3 separate regions of the Homo sapiens genome follow, and regions 2 and 3 are each linked to region 1. Evidence: promoter capture Hi-C in 16 types of primary human blood cells and fetal thymus (Javierre and others, 2016). All regions are on one chromosome and are shown on one strand. Each heading gives the region's core, a stretch centred on a gene start or on the middle of the fragment in contact. The rest is flanking DNA. Distances are from core to core; before and after follow the strand shown. Region 1 holds the start of FYN (FYN proto-oncogene, Src family tyrosine kinase). Region 2 overlaps CCN6 (cellular communication network factor 6). Region 3 has its middle 30 kb from the start of CCN6.

Region 1 (2,833 bases), core at 158-2,657:
ATGCACTGAAAGGGCTCTTTGTGTCACACTCACACTCACACACCCGGCGAGTCTGTGTGATTTATTGGGGGAAGGAGGGGCAAGAAGGGTGATTTTATTATCCCTCTTCCCAGTGAGTCCCAGCACATCTCTGCTGGGCCCAAGCTCGGTGGCCTCCTTCTGGCCCAGTCCCCTCCGCCTGTGGCCGCAGAGATAACAGAGGGGAGGAGCCCAAACAAAAACAGCCATGGATCTAGGGAAGTAGAGAGGAAATCCAGCGAGGGAGCCGGAAAGGAAGGAGAAAAGAGCTGGAGGGAGCAGAGGGGTGGGGGACAGAGGAAGAGGAGGGAAGGCTCCAGCACAGGGGAAAGGGGAAGGGTGGGTGGGTGGTGGCACAGGAAGAGTGAAGGGGAGGATGGGGGAAGTGCAAGGGAGGTGCCAGAAATAGGCAGGAGGATGGGTTGGAGAAGGCGACCGCCGCCGAGGGAGGAGGCCGAGAGGTGGAGGAGTGGGGCAGGGGTTGGGTGGGGAGGGAAGCAGCACGGGGCATCAATTATTAAGTGATTACATCATCCCTGACATTAAAACAACACACACAGCCCCAGTCCCCGCGGGGGGCCCCAAAAGGAGGGCGGGGGCGGAGTCTGGGCCAGCCTCGCCCCCAAGCCAATTCCCATTTTCACCCGGCGCCCGCTTGCGGGCGAGGAAATGGGGTCCCCATCCCCGCGCTGCCTCGGGGCCGCACCCCGCAGGGGTGTCCTCCGGTGCAACCGCGGGAAGACCCCAAGCACCGACTCCCCGGCAGCCCCGCGGAGCGCCCTGGCGGCCAAGGGACCGCAGCACCGGGCCCTGCGGCGGGGGCGGCGTGCGCGGGGGCGCCGGCGGCCGGGCTTCTCCGCAGCATCCCCGAGGCCTCCCGCGACGCATCCCCGCCGCCTGCTTACCTGCGCGGCGCTGAGGCTCCGGAGCCCACTCACATGGTCCTCTCCCCGCCCTCCTCCGGCGCGGCCGAGGCGGCTCCGGGGGGTCCCCGGCGGGCCCGGGAGCCGGTGGGCCTTCCGAGAGCACCGAGGGGGCGGCGCCGGGGTGTCCCCGGCCCGGCGGCCGAATCCCTCCCTGGCGCGGGCGGCGGCCGCCGGGCGGTGCGGCGCGGGCGGCGGCTTTGTGTGCGCCCGGGCGGTCCTCGGTGCGCTGGGAGAAGCGCGGCGCGCCCGGGCGGGAGAGGACGCGCCGCTCGCACAACAACCTCGCCTCTACTCTCGCCGCCGGGCGGCGGGCGGGTCTCGAAGGCCTTCGGCTCGCGGCGACCCCTCCTCCTCGCCCGCGGCAGCCCCCTCCTCGCCGGCTCCGCTCCTGACAGATGGCGCAACTGCAACGACGCGCCGCCGCCACCAGCGCGGCTGCTCGCTGCTACTCTTGCTGATGCTCTGCCCCTCCAGCTCCGGAGGGGAGCGAGGAGGGGGCGGGGCGCGCCTCGAGAGTGACAGGCCCGGCTGCCCTATCAAAGAGCCCCTTGGGAGCTGCGAGCCGCAACCATTGGCGCCTGGGGCGTGGGCGGGACGGCAGTAGGTGGGGCCGCCGAGTGGGTTGAGCGTTACTGTGGCAGCGGGCATCCCAGGGTGCGTGCGGTGCAGGGTGTGCAAGAAAATGCGAGGTTGGAGGAGGAGGTCTGTGTGTTTTTAAGGATTGTGTGGAGTTGTGAGGTGGCGGAGTAGGGCGGGAGAAAGAGCGGAGAGTGTGAACTGCAGTTTCCGCTTTGCGGAAGGTTGCAGCTGCTGCTGCAGATTGGCACCTGCCATTCCCCCAAAACCATGGGAAACTGCCTCGAGACAGGGCTATCTTGCCTTTCTGGTGTCTTTTCATTTGAGGGTGAGAGGATGAAATGGAAAATTGGGCGGTGATAGCAGCGTTTTCTTTGATCAAACTGAAAAGAGTACGGAGCAAAGTAGAATCCTGTCCTGAAACGTGGAAACGCACAACAAATAACAATGAGGAGGAGAAGGAGATTAGGATCATTTTATCAGTCCCCTATTTCTGCGGACACTCATTTATATTTTTTTTCTAGCAAAAGTCTGGAGGAAGTATTACTGAAATAGGGGGAGGGGCCAAGCGGCGACTAAGGAACCTGAAATGACAGAGATTTGTTCGTACATTCCCCGCCCCACCCCCAAAAAACCTCGTTTAATTGTAGTCATTGGTTGTCTTTGGTTTCTCATAACATTCAAACTTCTCATGTTTTTTTCCCCTTCACTGAATCTGAGCTTTTGCTCATATTTCCCTTGATGAAATAATTGCCGGTTTAGTATACAGTTGGGAGTGCATCGGTCTTTATTTCCTATCCAGCTTTTCTATGGCAGGATGTAACTTCATAAAAAGAAACACTTTGGCTTCCTGATTTTCTTTATAGGTAATTCCTGTTTACTGAAAGTTCTGCTTTAAGGCATACTCAGAATCGCTCTCCTTAATGATTTTGGCAAGAACCCTACCTTCCCCCTCAGCAAATCTAATGTTCTAAGAAATTATAAGTGAATCAGCTTCTGCTTCTGTGCTCAAAATCTATAATATTGCCTTTCCGGCCCACTACTTGTTTTTACTGTAGTTTAAAAAAATCTGTCCCTTTTGCTGACTTTTTTCTTTTTGTACACACTACTTTTTAAGAAAAGTTGCTAACATTTATTAAATGATCTGCATCCTATGGAGGAGGAAACTGAGGAAAAGAAAAGTTAAGTAACTAACTCAAGGTGACAGTATACAGAGGTTACTGGATTTTTTTCCTTTTCCTTAAACAAAATGACAAATTAAACCATGTTTAAATTGTGTCTGGAAATTCCATAATCCCAAGAAATGGAACCAT
Region 2 (2,833 bases), core at 209-2,708, 190 kb after region 1:
TTAAAATGCATTGGTCTATCCAAGACCCATTTGGAATAGATCTTTTACTCATGTATAATTTTGCCATTCTATGCATTGTTCATTTGGAAAATATGTTTACTGTGTTGTAGAGATGTTCAAAATATTGATACACTTAATTATGTAATATCTAAAAAAAATCACATTAATATCATCCTCACCAGAAAAGTCTACATATTGGATAAATATAAAGTTTTCAGTGATGGATACAAGTTTTCCAAAATTCTAATTTTTCCTTGAAATCTTGAATTCTCGCATTGGCAAAAAATGCTGTCACAGTTGTTTTCCTTGAAGTGACAGGCTCAGTTTGCTCATCTTCAAAAAAAATTTCCAAAATACACAAGTCTGAATAACCAGTTTATCATCAGTCATTTCTTCAAGTAAAATTCCCACTAAAAAAAGTGGTTAGCTCAGCTCACAACTTTACCAATGACATAGTTCCTTAAGTTTCCCTGAGAGAGCAGTTTGCTGAAGTTTCAAGACAGCTGTTGCACTAAAATATTCTATGTATATTTCCTATTTTGTCACGTAGAATATTAAAGAGACCAGTATTTGATGATTAAGATTTAATAAAATTAATACTTTTTGCTGTGCCATCAAGGACATTCTTAGGTAAAACTTCCCCCACCCCTTTTAAAGTATAAGTACCTGGCAAGGAAAAATACAAGATTACCTCTACAGTTTGATTCATGCCAAGGCACCAGCAGTTCAGTTTTAGCCACAGTTGCTTTTGTAGCACCGGTGCAAATACCAACACAGTGAAAAAGGCCAGCCACATCTTAGTATTTGGAAAAGAGTTTTGACCTTGCAGATCCCCTAAAAGTGTCTCAGGTACTGCCAAGGGATTAGAGGACCACACTTGGGGAACAGCCTATCCAGAAAGTCAAGAATACCCATCAGAGGAAGGGAAACTCTCCTGCAATCTCTTAACAAAAACCATCAGTACCTTGCGGTTCTGTAGTTAACTAACGTATAGTTTCTTCAGACATTCACTTATCCTGTCTTCCTAAGACTATATCCTAGCCTATTGTTGGATGTCTGAGAAAACCTGTCTCACTAGGCATTAACCTGTCTCAGATTTATTATCAACCACTATACTTATGGTGATTTTACAGGGTCTTTACTTGGTCTTAATTCTGGAAGTGACCATGTGGGGTTTATAGCCTGCAATATAATAAAAATGCCTCACTTTAGAAACCTTTCTACAGATGTCCTGTGAAGGAGGTTCCAAATGGAACCTAAGAGGTTGAGAGCTATACTTCATACAGGAGATGATCCGTTTCTTCTTAGGTTTATAATTGGAGGTCTAGACTATCACAGATCATGGCTTCTTTGGCAATTTTGCTCTTTTCTCTTTTCAGACCTTGTAGCTGTTGGGTGCGAGTTCAACCAGGTACATTATCATAATGGCCAAGTGTTTCAGCCCAACCCCTTGTTCAGCTGCCTCTGTGTGAGTGGGGCCATTGGATGCACACCTCTGTTCATACCAAAGCTGGCTGGCAGTCACTGCTCTGGAGCTAAAGGTGGAAAGAAGTCTGATCAGTCAAACTGTAGCCTGGAACCATTACTACAGCAGCTTTCAACAAGCTACAAAACAATGCCAGGTGCTCAGAAGTAGAGCTATTTTTCACGTATGACCTTGGTGGTATTCCTTCATGTTCCTTTTACGTATCATAGGTACTCAGTAAGTACTTGTTGATTGGTGGTCAGAGTGAGATATAGTTTGAGTGTATCATTTTACTTAATCTTTGCCTCAGACAGGGATAAATATCTGCAAAGGAAATTTTATAATGTTTTAGAATTTTCTGGTAAAACATTTAAAAACATTTTTAAAAGATCTACTAGGTCAGGAAGCTCTACTAAAATCTTACACCTCTGCTTATTTCTAACCTCTTCTCAGGAAAATTGACCAAATATTGTTCACATGTACCCTAGAACAACTTATTTTTATTGTTCTATTATGGGCAAGAAGTTTGACCATTCACTTCCCCAAATTTTAAAAGGTAACATTTCTATGTGATACAGGCAGAAATGGGAGGCTACTGCTGAAAAATATTTAAGAACTGACACATATTTTGAACTTGTAAATATTATTTCTAAAAATAGAAATCTCGTAGGAAGTCCTTTCCCTCACTCTGAAATTGAAGCTCAATTGTTAATCTCTCTGTAAACACACACACACAAACACACACACGCACACACACACAAACACACACGCACACACACACGCACGCACACACACACACACACAAACACACACATGCACACACACAGGCATTTTTAAGTAGGTTACCCATGTATCTATGTTCTCAGAAAAATGAAGTGTGATCCTTCATTACTCATCTTGTGTATCTGGCCATTTCAAACAGCTTAAGTATACTTATAAACCTTGTATTCTGGTCTGCTCTAAGTTAGCATTTTATTTAAGCATCAGCATATTTTGGGAACAGGAGTTTCAGAACCACCAGCAAATAAAGTATAGAGGAGGAGGGACTCAAAAGGGGCAACATCGAAGTCTGGTTCTTGTTCACATCTCTGTGTTCTCATCCAGAAATCAAGAATGCCTTTTTCTTAAAGTTTAGAGCTTAGTGAGAGGTGCCATGGAAATGCAGAATACTTGAATATGTTAACAACTCATGAGTTCACTTTTATTAAGTGGATATTTAATAAAGGCAACTATAAGCAGAGAAATGAGTTTAGATATTTAAGAACTAACTCTATGAAAGGAACATCCTCAGCAACTCCAGTTTTGTCAGTAAATTAGAAAAAAAATTTACTAGGTTGTTGTGAATTTGCATTTACTATACATGTTCAG
Region 3 (2,833 bases), core at 196-2,695, 150 kb after region 1:
ATCATGCAGTATTTGTCTTTGTGTGTCTAGCTTGTTTCACTTAGCATAATGTTCTCCAGTTCTACCCATATTGTCACAAATGGCAGGATTTCTTCTTTCTTTTTTAAAAACAGAATAATATTCCACTGTATGTGTAAACCACATTTTCTTTATTCATTCATCTGTCAATGGACATTTAGGTGGCTTCCATGTCTTAGCTATTGTGAATAATGCTGCAGTGAACATGGAAGTGCAGACATGTCTTTGAGATTCAGACTTCAATTTCTTTGGATGTACACCCAGAAGTAGGATTACTGGATCAAACGCTAATTCTATTTTTAATTTTTTGAGGGGACATCTTATTTTTCTATACTCACTTCTGAGGTGTTCCAGGCTTATGACATTAAATGCCACCTATATACTGATAAGTTATAGATTTAGGCCTTCAGCTTGTACCGCTTCCTGAAATCCAGACTTATATAGGGAATTGCTTATGCAGCATTGCCACTTGGATATCTGTGGTAGGCTGAATCATGACTCTCTCCAAAAGATATTCATGCCCTAATCCCTGCAACCTTTATATGTCACCTTACATGTCGAAGAGCTAATGTGATTACATTAAGGATCTTGAAGTGGAGGGATTATCCCAGTTTTTCTGGGTGGACCCTAAATGCAATCACATGTATCCTTACAAGAGGGAGGTACAGGGAGATTTGACATACTGAAGAGGAGAAAGCAATGTGACAACAGAGGCAGAGACTGAAGTGATGCAGCCACAAGCCAAGGAATGCTGGCAACCACCAGAAGCTGGAAGAAGCAAGGAACAGATTCATCCCACTGCCCCGGGAGGGAGCGTGGTCCTGCCAATACCTCGATTTCAGCCCAGTGAAACAGATTTAGAACTCCTGGTCTTTAGAACTCTGGGATAATGTTTTTATTGTTTGAAGCCACCAAGTTTCTGGTAATTTTTTATAGCAGCCCTAGAAAACAAATGCAATATTCAATAGGCATCTCAAACCCTACATATCCAGAGCTGAACTGCCTGCAAATCTGCTCATCTCCTTGTCCTCCCTGTCTCAGAGAAAAGAAAATTCTATTCTTTTAGTTGTTCAGGTCAAAAACCCTAGAATCATCCATAACTCTTCTTTTTATTTCATACTTCACGTCCTACTTAGTGAATCTTATTTGCTCTACTTTGAAAATATATTCAGAATCAACATTGCTACTGAGCCACTGTCACCTCTTGTTTGAATTATTGCAACAGCCTCCTAACTTGTCTCCCTGCATCCTCCTTTGCCTCAGACACAGTCTAGAAGAGACCGCATGGCAGCCAACGATCTTTCTTATGCCTCCCTGTTGCACTCAAAGCAGAAGCCACAGTTGTTACTGTGATTTCAAGGCCCTCTGTGACTTGGCCCCTAGTACCTCCCTCAACTCCATCTCATACCCTTTCTCACTCCATTTCAGCCACACTGGCCTGTTCTGTTCCTTCAATATTCTAAGCACACTTCTGCCTCAGGGCCTTTGCACTTGCTGCGTCCTCTGCTCACCTCCCAGATATCTGATGGCTCACTCCTTCACCTCTTTCGGATCTTTATTCAAATGTCACCTTCTCAGTGAGGACTCCCTGGCCACCTTATCTAGTATTGCATCCCTAGTAAATACCCCACCCCAAACATATCCATGCTTTGACTTTCTTTATAGCATTTATAACTCTCTGACATACTATATATAGACTTATTTACTTGGTTGTTCATCTTTCTGTCTTACTGGAGTATAAGTTCCATGAAGATATGGACTTTTGTTAATTTTATCTATTGTCATATTCCCAATGTCTAAAACTGTACCTAGCACATGATAGATGTTCAATAAATACTTTCGAATGACTGAATGGATTTCTAGTGGTGCTTTTGGCCGGGAAAAGAGAGATATTCATCCTCTTATCCAAGAAGACCCGTGGAACCCACAAACCTTTTAACTAATTAAGATTCACTGATGGCCTACAGCTAAGAGAGAGCCGTGTTGGTTAAGCAGAGGATCCTTTGTTTAAAATGAAAAAAATAATAATAATTCTTGAATTTTCTTTGGCCTCAGTCACTCTCCCATTAGCTGTTTCAGTCCTTCATTCTTATTTATTTCCCTTAAAAGTTTTCCTGCTCTTTTGAATTTCCCAGGTTGTGTAAGTTACAGGAACGCTAGAAATGCTCAAGAGAAAGTGATGAAAATCTAGAATCATTTTGCTTTTGAAGTTTCAGTATTAGGAAACAATAAAATAACATAAAATACTTTTCCCCATAGGTCACACCTGGCCGTGTGAGTGCCACAGCTCTGCACCATGCATGGGGAAGTTGCTCGGTATCTAGTGAATCCAAGTAATTGCAAAGCCACCTCACATTCATTGCTCTTGCTGGCCACCTGAGTGCTTTTGTGTATCCATGCTCTGCACTGAAGATAAATTATGAAATGTCCCAACACAACGATGGGTTGTAAATTAGGACTTATTATGTCAGAACTTGGGACATCTACTCCCATCACTGTCACATCGAATAGGAGAGAATTTTGAACATTATAAGACATCATTGGTCTTCTGTGCCAAGGACTGATCTAAGCACTATGTAAGTATTAATTAATTTAATTCTCATAACAACTCCATGAAGTAGGGACCATTACTAATATCATTTTTAAAAAATGAAACCGAAGCACAAAGAGGTTAATTTGCCACAGGTCATCTAGGGCTGCCATAACAATGTACTACAAATTGGGTGGCCTAAACAACAGAAATGTATTGTCTTACAGTTCTGGAGGCCAGAAGTCGAAATCACAGTCTCGGCAGGGATGTGCTCCCCGTGAAGAT

The links. Contacts are between HindIII fragments. The CHiCAGO score rates a contact against its expected background, and 5 or more counts as called.
Region 2: a fragment that was not itself captured here is called in contact with the fragment with the promoter of FYN in region 1 in 2 of 17 cell types (total CD8 T cells and non-activated CD4 T cells); the score reaches 5.8 in total CD8 T cells.
Region 3: a fragment that was not itself captured here is called in contact with the fragment with the promoter of FYN in region 1 in 6 of 17 cell types (total CD8 T cells, activated CD4 T cells, naive CD8 T cells and 3 more); the score reaches 8.2 in total CD8 T cells.

Annotation. Positions count from the first base shown.
Region 1 is chr6:111,872,045-111,874,877 of GRCh38, forward strand. It overlaps FYN (FYN proto-oncogene, Src family tyrosine kinase), which reads right to left and starts at 1,408. Exons shown (of 14, transcript NM_002037.5): 1 at 924-1,408. LOC102724646 (a long non-coding RNA gene) reads left to right here and starts at 1,408. Exons shown (of 3, transcript NR_168402.1): 1 at 1,408-1,646. RefSeq lists silencers at 528-927, 1,078-1,327, 1,448-1,537 and an enhancer at 980-1,479. The HindIII fragment of the contact is 15,284 bases long and covers 1-2,833 here.
Region 2 is chr6:112,063,376-112,066,208 of GRCh38, forward strand. CCN6 (cellular communication network factor 6) reads left to right here. Exons shown (of 5, transcript NM_198239.2): 3 at 1,380-1,622. Among named protein-coding and RNA genes, the nearest start is that of CCN6, 11 kb to the left of the region's middle. The HindIII fragment of the contact is 4,008 bases long and covers 1-2,833 here.
Region 3 is chr6:112,023,181-112,026,013 of GRCh38, forward strand. No RefSeq gene overlaps it. Among named protein-coding and RNA genes, the nearest start is that of CCN6, 30 kb to the right of the region's middle. The HindIII fragment of the contact is 8,615 bases long and covers 1-2,833 here.